Linked DNA regions of Homo sapiens: region 1 is linked to region 2. The links are contacts of gene promoters, found by promoter capture Hi-C in human tissues and cell types (Jung and others, 2019). All regions are on one chromosome and are shown on one strand. The core of a region is centred on a gene start or on the middle of the fragment in contact, and the rest is flanking DNA. Distances in the headings are between cores, read along the strand shown. Region 1 has its middle 9.4 kb from the start of TMEM253. Region 2 holds the start of OR5AU1 (olfactory receptor family 5 subfamily AU member 1).

The links. The method cuts DNA at HindIII sites, captures the fragments that hold promoters and counts their contacts. A contact is called where the count stands out against the background at its distance.
Region 1: a fragment that was not itself captured here is called in contact with the fragment with the promoter of OR5AU1 in region 2 in 2 of the 25 tissues and cell types used here (mesendoderm cells and thymus).

The regions. Positions count from the first base shown.
Region 1 is chr14:21,107,761-21,113,213 of GRCh38, forward strand. It overlaps the pseudogene CKAP2P1. Among named protein-coding and RNA genes, the nearest start is that of TMEM253, 9.4 kb to the left of the region's middle. The HindIII fragment of the contact is 5,951 bases long and covers 1-4,873 here.
Region 2 is chr14:21,154,477-21,159,695 of GRCh38, forward strand. OR5AU1 (olfactory receptor family 5 subfamily AU member 1) reads right to left here and starts at 1,587. Exons shown (of 1, transcript NM_001004731.3): 1 at 389-1,587. The coding sequence starts at 1,396. The coding sequence ends at 461. The HindIII fragment of the contact is 4,022 bases long and covers 1-1,934 here.

The DNA of each region.
Region 1 (5,453 bases), core at 648-3,147, 46 kb before region 2:
GAAAATGTTTTTAGTTGCTATTTTTTTCATTGTGATAACATGTGTGTATACACACACACACACACACACACACATATGTATATATATATAACTATATATATACCTATATAGTTAAAATCTTCCCATTGCTAACAAATTCATACAACTTTCCCCTAGTTGTTAGCCCCCTCTCCTGACTCCACCCAGCTCCCATAACCCCTAATCCCAGCCTTCTCAAAAAAAAAGGAGGAGGAAGAGAGGAGGAGGGGAAGGAGAAAGGAAAGGAGGAGGAGGTGGAAGAAGAAGAAGACTGCTTTTGGTGTTTGCTTTAACCTGATGTCCCCATTATAATAATTCAGAAGGAAAGGCCTGCTCATATAATTTCCTACGGCCTCAGGCCAGAGACAGCCATACTTACAGGTAAATTGCTACTAGGCTGGCTTCTCCTTAAAATTCAGGTGCCATTTACTATCATCTTCTGTTTCTTTTATGTTTTTCCTTGTTTGCCTATTTTTTTTTCTGACTTATTTCATTTATATTTTGTGTTGCCTACTTTTCTTGGTTCCACTTAGCATCTGAATCTTTGGTTTATTTTTCTTATCAGAAGCTTTTCCTAATTTCTGTCCAGAGTTAATGAATTTTCTTTGTTGATTCTTGACAGTTTTCCCTTGCCATCCATAAAGTTTTCTTGTTTTTACCCAAGTCCAAACTACTAAAATATAATTTTATTTGCTTTGCCTCGTTATATGCTCTCTTTATATATAAAGAAAATGCTATGTGCTCGCTCTTATTCCTTTTTGGAGAGAGGGTCTGGCTCTGTTGCCCCAGGCTGGAGTGCAGTAGCGCGACCTTGGCTCACAACCTCCGCGTCCTGGGCTCAAGCCGTCTTCCCAGTTCAGCCTCCCAAGTAGCTGGGACTACAGATGTATGCCACTACATCTGGTTAATTTTTGTATTTTTTGTAGAGAAGAGGTTTCACCATGTTGCCCAGGCTGGTCTCCAACTCCTGAGCTCAAGCAATCCACCCAACCAAGCCTCCCAAAGTGCTGGAATTATAGGCATGAACCACCGCGCCCGGCCCACTCTTATTCTTTATGTAAAGCTAAAGTCATAGCACAGGAGAAAGAGAATTTATGCTTTTATAAGCCTCAAAGATAATTATGATGAAAAGAAATTGTTCTTTGCGTAACTAAGAAGTGAAACTGGGTCCAGTGGTTACTTGTTATAGAGAGGCCAATTTTAGACTGAAAAATAGAAACTGAACACCTTTCAAAAGATGAAATGCTTTCAAGTTGGGCTCTCAGCCTGTGGATATGTTAGAGCTGTTTTGTGCAATAAGCTTTCTCATGCAATGACAGGTTATTGAAGCAAATATTCAAATATCAGCTGAGTGGTTGAATTAGATGACTTTTAATTTCTCTGCCAACACTCAGATTACATTGGCTTTTCAGCCGTGATGATGTTTTTTAATTGACCCATCCATACTCTCCAATGTCTCGCCCTGGACAAAATTGTAAAATAAGATGCTGGTATTCCTCTAGTCCCTAGAACTGAATGTATCCATCTTGGCACCATTGATATTTGGGCCAGGTAATTCTTTTTTATGGAAGACTGGTGCATTGTAGAATGCTAAGCAGCAACCTTGGGCCCTACCTACTTGATGTCGGTAGCACCCCTCCCTCCAGTTGTGACAACCAAAAATATCTCTACACATTGCCAGATGTCTCCTGGGAAGCAAAATTACTTCTTTCTCTGAAAAACAATGCCTTAGAAGGATATGATAAGAAAGGTTTTAAGAACTTAATGTCTAATTTCTCAAGATCTTTGTATTTAAAAAGACCTGCGAAGATCTACCATAACCAAACAGCACATCCAAAATCTGAATTCCTGCCCTAGCTTTTGCCCCCCACCCCATTTTTCTGAATTTTCTGTGTTGTATTATTGTAACCACATCAGGCCAATCTGGTTCAACTTTTATGTAGCAAAGTTGTAAGTTATTTCTCGGTTGCCATGGACCCCAGGTTGAAAGTCCTGTAACCTGAGCATGCCCAGATGAACACATGTTCTACCACAGGGGAAACCTGAGTACTCAGACCAAGAAGGGTGGGGAGGACTGAATTGAGAAGCAGACACCGCATAGCAGGATCTAGAATCCAATCAGATGAGCTCTGGCATCACCCCATGGCAGGATCCAGTCATATCATGCCTCCTGGCATCATGTCATTGCAAAATGCAATCAGATCACACCTCATTACCCTACGCTTATAAAATCCAACCCAACCCCCAGCTCAGAGAGGCAGGTTTGAGCATTTCTTCCTATCTCCTTGGCAGTTAAATCATGTTGCTTCTCTGCTTAAATGCTTTTCGGTCCTCCCCATTGCCCACAAGCTTAAGTCCAAGCATTTTAAAATGGTGCATGGACTTCTGTGATTTGGCTCCTGCCCACTCTTCGGCGTCATCTCCCATGTCCCCTCTCTTGCACTTCATGATTTGGTGATAGCAGTTTGAGGGAGGTGGCATTGATATTTTTTTTTTCCTTACCAGAGCTTTCTATTTCATCTGTTATTTCAGTCTCAGAGTACATTCAGCATAGTGCTGCATTAGGACAGCATACAAAGGGATCAGTGTCACTTCCCAACTCTGTTAACTCTTCCAATGAAGACACGCAGGGATAATGGTCTTTTAACATACCTGGCAATTTTAAAGTTTTACGCTGACATTGAGAACATCTCACTGGTATTTAAAACTTGAGCTCTTTAAATGTATAATTTGTTTAATCAAATTGCACCTTCTTTTTTACACTTTGCAAGTATGTCATAGTAAATACATTATATTTAATTAAGCAACTTGCCCTAGTTTCTGTATTGGGGATTTTAACATCATTGGTTGGATCTTTTGTTTTGTCATCTTGCTATTTTTCAGAATCTTGAAATAGCACGTTTCCATGATGTCTGTTCTCTTCAGTGCCTGTGGAAGCATACAAAAAATATGATGTCTATTCCCCATTTCTGGTCTTCCTGACTCTGAATTAACAGTTGTATCTTCAGTGTTGACTTCTTGGACTTGTTCCTTGGTTGCACAAGCCTCCTCAATATTTTCTCCAAAACTGACATTTTCTTAACTCTTTATTGGTAGAATATCTACAACTGTGTGTCACATCTCTTCAATAGGTTGAGCCCCTGCCAGAATGGCCTTCTCATAGATTGCGAGAATACTTTCAATAGGACTTGGGGTTGGTTCAGTATGTGCAAGACATATTCAATATTTTACAAGATTTTTGGCATCTGGAATATTTTTAATCAGATCGTTCAGTGTGACCAGTATTTCTTCTTCTGCGCGTCCTTCATTAATTAGGTTTAGGCATTCAGAAAATGTGTCGCTTACCTTTTCAGTAAATAATTTTTGTTCATCTTCTGCCATGGTAGTCCAAAAGGACCCAACTGGTTTTTCATTTTGTTCTTAAGGTTCATACTAGGTAACTATTCAGTTAGGAGGCCTTTTCAGCACTCTTTCTTTGCCAGCTTTCCACTCATTCAGATGAGCTTTTCTCTCTTCTGAGTTTTCTTTGGATTGAGTTGATCTACTATCAGCAGTTGGTTTTGCTATAGTATATCTTCACTGGTCAATAGGTTTTGATTTTTCTATCAGTTTGGCATTAGAAGATGAAGCACAAGTGGGAGCGGTGGCTCACACCTGTAATCCCAGGACTTTGGGAGGCTGAGGTAGGAGGATCCCTTGAGACCAGGAGTTCAAGACCAGCCCGGCCAATATAATGAGACCCTGTCTGTAAAAAAATAGTTGTTGTTTTTTTTTTGAGATGGAGTTTCACTCTTGTTGCCCAGTCTGGAGTGCAATGGCGCAATCTCAGCTCACGGCAACTTCCGCCTCCCAGATTTAAGCAATTCTCCTGCCTCAGCTTCCCAAGTAGCTGGGATTTCAGGCTCCTGACACCATGCCTGGCTAATTTTTGTATTTTTAGTAGAGATGGGGTTTCGTCATGTTGGCCAAGCTGGTCCCGAACTCCTGACCTCAGATGATCCGCCCACCTCGGCCTCCCAAAGTGCTTGGATTATAGGTGTGAGCCACCGTGCCTGGCTTAAAAAATAATTTTTTAAAACAGTAAGATGAAGCAGGCCTGGCTACGATTTCACATGCTATTTTCCTTTTTCTTTTTTCCTTTTTAAAACTTTCTTTATTTTGGCAACCACTTGTCCAAAAGATCAGATGCACAATCTTCTTGATTGTGCCTTATCTCTTTTCTATGTCCTGAGAGGAACTGGTTTTGACCCTAGATAAAACTGTTTTTGATTGTAATAATTCTTTTCTATGAGACCTTTTCCTGATTGTAAACAAGGCTGAGATTCTACCGATGCCTTCTTTCACAGTGTCCTGGGTATTATTGGATGACTTCTAATAAGAGATCACACAAACTTAGCACTACATTTGGTGTACCCCAAGTTACATTTAGTGTAACCCAGGGTCCTTGCACACACTGTGAACAAGTACACACTGTTGCACCTTGAGTTTTTGTTGTTTCAAAAAGTTCCAGGAAGAAGCAAAACAAAACCCATTCGATCCAGAGATGCCCTCTGAATTGGAGATGAATTTGGCAAACTCCCCACATTACCATACAAAAAGTTCCACCCAAGGAGGAGTATTTTTGCCACTTTCTATACATGTGATATATGAAGAAGCATGATTGATGACTGTACTCCACCTCTACATACGATGACTCAGCTAAGCAGCCCAATACAAGCCCTGTTTTTAGCTTTATTCCGAGAGGAACTGCTTTGGGAATTATCCCCAGTATTCTCCTTCTTTGTTGCAAGTAATGAAATCCCCTTGTTAAATTTTCCTTGGTTGTGGTCATTGGACTGTCACTGGCCAAGCGACCAGCTCACCCATTGTGTGGTAACAGTAGCAGTTATATTTGAGACTCTATTACTCTTCACTGTTACGCTGCTGGTGTTTATAAGCTGAGGCTCTGTTGCTTTAGGAATAGTAATTGAAAATTTCTTTGTTGCTGCAGAACTCTCATCTTTGACTTGTAGAGGTTTTCTAAATGAATTAAACTTAGACTGAACAATTTGGCCTCAATAAGATTCTATCACAGACTTCTTGGGTGTGTCAGCCTCTTGCTTTTGTTTTTCTGCAACAATTTGTTTCTGTTTACTATTATTGTTAGGGTGAAATGTCTTACATTAATGTCATATGTTGACATTGGGGGTCATCTTCAGTTGGTAACAACTTCAGGGTTTGATTATTATCCTCAAATTTATGTGTGACAATTACTATAGTTGAATTGGTCAGTTCATTAGAAGGTTTTAAAGGAATACAATTTTTACCACCATTGTATTATTTTTGCTTCTCATGAGTCTGTTGACATTTTCTTTACCAGCCATTTCTCACTGAAGTTTCAAAATATTTCTCTCTTCTTGGAACTGGTCCTCAAATGTCACCACTCTCTGGCCTCT
Region 2 (5,219 bases), core at 337-2,836:
AGGATCGCTTGAGGCCAGGAGGTTGAGGCTGCAATGAGCAATGTTCATGCCACTGTGCTCCAGCCTCGGGGGTGGAGAGAGAGAGAGAGACAGAGAGAGAGAGAAAGGAAAGAAGGAAAGAAGGAAGGAAGGAAGGAAGAAAGGGAGGTGGGGAGGGAGGGAGGGAGGGTGGGAAAGGAAAGGAAATACACTAACTGGGAAAAATGAATGAAGCATCTCAACATGGATTACTAAATCTTGCCAACAGGTTGAATTATGCAACAAGCAGACACACCCTTCTCACTTCTTAGTCTCTAGGACACCATCATTTCTTCTGTGGCAGGTAGATGCAGAAGCACCTGCAGACCAGAGGGCATGCCCAATATTCACAGGGGTGGGCATGGGAATGTGCTCAGGGTGACACCACCTAAGGTAAAAGTTCCCTTGACTTTCTAAAGATATGTGGTAATGCATTGAGAAATCATTCCATTGTTTTCCTACCCCAAACCTTTATTAAAGCTTTCTTCACATCCTTGTTTCTCAAAGAGTACATGAGGGGGTTCAGCACTGGGATCACCACTGTGTAGATGACAGCAACTGTGCGGTCCTGGGTCAAGGAGTAGCTGGACCTGGGGCGCAGGTACATAAAAAGTGTTGTGCCAAAGAAGAGGCAGATGGCAGTGAGGTGGGATGCACAGGTGGAAAATGCCTTAAACCTGCCCTGGGCCGAGCTCATTTTCAGGATGGTGTTGAGAATTAAGAAGTAGGAGATCAAGATGGTGAGGGTGCAGCTCAAAAGGTTGAAACCAGCAAAAATGAAGAGCAGGATCTCACACAGTGAGGTGTCTACACAAGACAAGGACAGGATGGGTGGCCCATCACAGAAGAAGTGAGTGACGACATGAGCACCGCAGAATTTCAGACTAAAGATACAGCCAGTGTGGATAAGAGAATTGAGGAATCCTGCACTGTAGGAGCCCACAATCAGCGAGGCACAGACCTCAGGAGACATGATGGTTGAGTAGAGCAGGGGGTTACAAATAGCGGCATAGCGGTCATAGGCCATGGCAGCGATGAGATAGCACTCACTGGTGGCAAAACCCGCATAGAAGAACATCTGAGTCATGCAGCCAAAATAAGAGATCACTTTCCTCTTGGCCAAGAAGTTCACCAGGGTCTGGGGCACAACCGTGGAGGAGTAGCAGAAATCCAAGAAGGAGAGGCTCTTCAGGAGGGAGTACATGGGTGTGTGCAGGGTGGCACTCACATGGATCAGGAGGAACATGACCAGGTTCCCCAGCAGAGTGGCTGTGTACATGCCCAGGAACACCACGAAGAGCAGCCTCTGGAGCTGGGGGTCAGTGGTGAGGCCCAAGAGCTCAAACTCCATCCCTTGGCTCAGGTTTGCCCCTTTCATCCTTCTCCAGTGCTCTGCGATGGAGAAAGAAGGCACCACCATAAATGAGGTTGAACACCTGGGGCTCTGACTGGGTTTAATTCTGCCTAAGGACAGCCTTCTGAAGATGAGTCTTATTGAGGGCATTTGGCTTTGCAGATGAAACTCTGTCATAGAGAGGATCTTTTCTCCTTGGTTGGTTGGTTAGTTGGTAAGCATTACTTAAGCAGCAATGGAAAATATAAGAGAAATATCTACAATTGGTCTTGGGGATCTTAAAAATTCTAAGTAATGAAACAGTCACTCACCAAGTATATATTCATAGTTTTCCATTTGCTTAGCTCTGTGTTCTCCCTATCAGGAATTCAAGAGTGCCTGACCTTGGGAAGCTTATATTCTACAGACAGTATATTTTGTGTTTAAGCCACACATACTGTGGTATCAGACTGCTAAGGTTCAAAGTTAGGACTTTGCCATTAACTAGCTGTGTAATCTTGGGAATGTTACTTTACCTTTCTGAGTTTCCATTTTTCCATCTGTGAAATAGGGATAATAGCAACTGTCTATAAAGATTATTATAAAAATTCAATGAGTTATTTCATGCAGAGAAGTTGAACAAATTCCAGCACGTTGAGGAAGTTCAAAGAAGGTTAGCTATGAGCATGCTCACTAAGAAGATAGATCCAAAACCTAAATAAACATGATAAATGAGATGAACCCACAACAAAGCTTAGCAAGCAACCTACCACCTAACAGTATAGACAGAGACACACGTGCTATGCAAGCGTGACTAAACAGGCTTTCAGAGAGGCTGTAGATGGCTGATGGGTCAGCTATAAAACTGGCCCTGTGAAATCAGCACTACCCAGGCAATAATGTGAATACTTAAGGTAACAAGGGCTGAGAGTGTGGAGAGATGGAGGTAGTGTAAGACTGCATGTGGGAGCCTCCACCAACGGGAGAGTCTCCTCATCATCCATAAAGCTGCCCATCATTTCCAGAGAACAAAATCACCCTGGACTCAGAGGATGTTATGGCCAGTAGGAAAGGAACGAAGTGAGTGAGTCTTTGTGAAAATGCCTTTTCTATTTAGAGAGTGAACAAAGCTTGAATGCATCACCTAAACACCACACTCTCCTCTGTTCCATTGGCTCCTCTACCACGTGTCTTCCCAAGTTACCTCTGGGTGCTGAGCCAGTTAAGCACCCTGTGCTCTTGGGTGAAGACTCTCAGTTACAAAGACTTTGAAGCTAACAGATGTGGCTGAGTAGGACAAAAAGGGGCAAAAGTGAGCTGCCTCATCCTGCCCTGAGGAGAGTAAGCGAATAACACACCTGTGAAAAGTGTTGGGAGAATTTGGAGAGGAAAGAGCTGGATTGAGCAAGCAAACATTCTGACGAATTCCAATGACATAATTTCCAGAATCATCAAACTACCTGGGCAGGAGAAGATTCTGGACATATGTATAACTAAATTTAGTTGTCAGGCAGGGAATGAGGCACCATTTGTGTTGATAGAATACTGTGACTGGTGACAAGAAAAAGGCTTTTAGAAATGCCCAAAGAGGTAACATGCCCTAATAAAATTGAGACACAAAATATAAGTGCAAATTTGAACACAGAACATTAGCAACTGCTTTTAGAACTCATGGAATGCAATTCTGTGACTTATTTCATGTCACTTAGATGTAACATTCAGCTATCCTTACTCTAACAGCTGTCATTTTATAATAAATCTCACTATTGTAGAATGTGGGCAGTCCTAGATTTGGGTTGCAAATGTCTTTGGCGCCATTGGTGACAAAGGCCAATTCGACTTCAAGGCAAATTAGAGGAATTCAGATAAATGACTGTAAAACTCCCAGAGTGGAAATAACTTGCAGGCACTTTAAGAAAATAGAAAGGTGGTCATTAGGAGTGGAGTAGAATTTTCAGACCCAGCTTCCCATCTTCTTTCCTTGGTGGGCTGTTTCAATTTAGGTAATAGGTCTGCAAGTATCTCTCTGATTAAAAGAACAAAAGAAGAGAAAAATAGAAATATGTGCAATGCTCCAGACAGTATGGATGAGGCAGGAAGCATACACTGGGGTGGAGTGGTGGGATGGGATGGGGTAGGGTGGTGGGTAATACAGTGGATAGCTGATCAGAGCCTCCAGATTTATCATTTACTTTAAACCCACACTCTCTCTTCTGCTCCCCTCTCCTCTTTCATCTCTCTTCACCAATCTGCACTAAATTCAAAATTCTTAAGAATATAGAGTGACTCAAGGAAAGGATTATGGAGAAATTGGCATCTCTGACAGTTGTTCAAAGGATGCTGGAATTACCACTATTTCTATTGGCTATTGTTTGTACCTGTGAATGAAATGTAGGAGGAAAACTTAAAGATGATCTTATCATATGGGAGTGGATTATGGAGTGGAGTGCATAAGAGTGAGAGCAAATGCCTGGGGCCTGTGGATGAGGGAGGCATAGGAAAGAAGCTCTGTTTATACCCGACTCATTGCCCCCATCCCTGGGATAGCACAGTGAGAGCACATGTGGATATGAAGGGCAGGCAGCCAAGAAAAGCAGCCAGTGAGATTCCCTGAGCAACAGTGATCCCAAACAATGGTTCTTAAACAGTAAGCTGCCTTGCCCAAGGTTCACAGGAGAAGCTTGTTACATGTGCAGATTCCAGGTCCCAACCCACAGAAAATTTGATCCAATAGGTCTATAGCTTGGCCCCAAAGTCTGGTGATTCTGACTGAGACAGGAGGTCTCTGAACCTCACTCTGAGAAACACTAAACCATGGGGTACTTGCAGGAGCAAACAGATCTTCCTGAGCCACATATACGTATCTCTTCCTAGCTTGCTGGATTTGTCCGTGTCCTGGGAAATCAGCCTGTGGGTAGGATGGTCATCCTGGACATGCTCTTCCCTCCAGAAGACCTATCTGTGGTTAACCATTTCCGGAAATCTGGGTTACTACCTGATGATAATCTAACACCAGAGCATTTCTTCCTTCAAAGTAGCTTCAGATGTCCTTCAGCAAACCATGTAATTCCAGCAAAGCACCTGGCTTGATGTCAGAGCTGTTGCTGTAGGGGTCAGAACACAAGTCTTCCATGGAAACACAGCAAAGACAAAGCCAGACTCTGCATTCATAGACTGAGTCTGGGGATCAGAGCCTGTCACCGACTTTAGTCTTTCACGTTGTCAGAGGTGTGAGGCAGCCCCACTCCCTGTGAGCTCCTCACAGCTGATCTTGTGCTGGCAGGAGCAACCCCAGAGCCATCTTTTCCCCTGGCAGCCCAGCAGCTCACCACTGGGGAGGAGGATGTGTTCACTGATTAAAGTTTAAAAGGCAGGTGAGGAAGTGGGACTAATTAGCCCCATGAAGGCCCATTAAAGTGTTTGAAAAGTTACTAGCATCTCTGAGAGTCTACCCATGAGGAAACAAGTGGCTGGGAAACTGGGAATGAGGGGACTAGATCCACACAGATCCCTGCAAATATGCTGCTCATTCGCCCCAAAACACTACTCCACCTTCACTCTAAACTTAACTCTTACGTGATTATCTGTATTTCCTCGACACTGGAAAACCAGGTTTTTCTTTCTTCTATGCCAGTTACCCAATGTACATTTGTGCTGTAGATGAGAGCTGAGGACCTTCCTGCCCTTCAGGGTTATAGTAAAGTTAGAGGCATGTTATGTGGTTCCCAAATATTTGGGAATTTTCTAGGTATCTTTCTGTTATTGATTTCTGATTTAAAAGCATATGGTCAGAGAATACATTTTGTATGACTTGATACTTTTGAATTTATTGAGACTTACTTTAAGGCCCAGAATAGGACCTATCTTG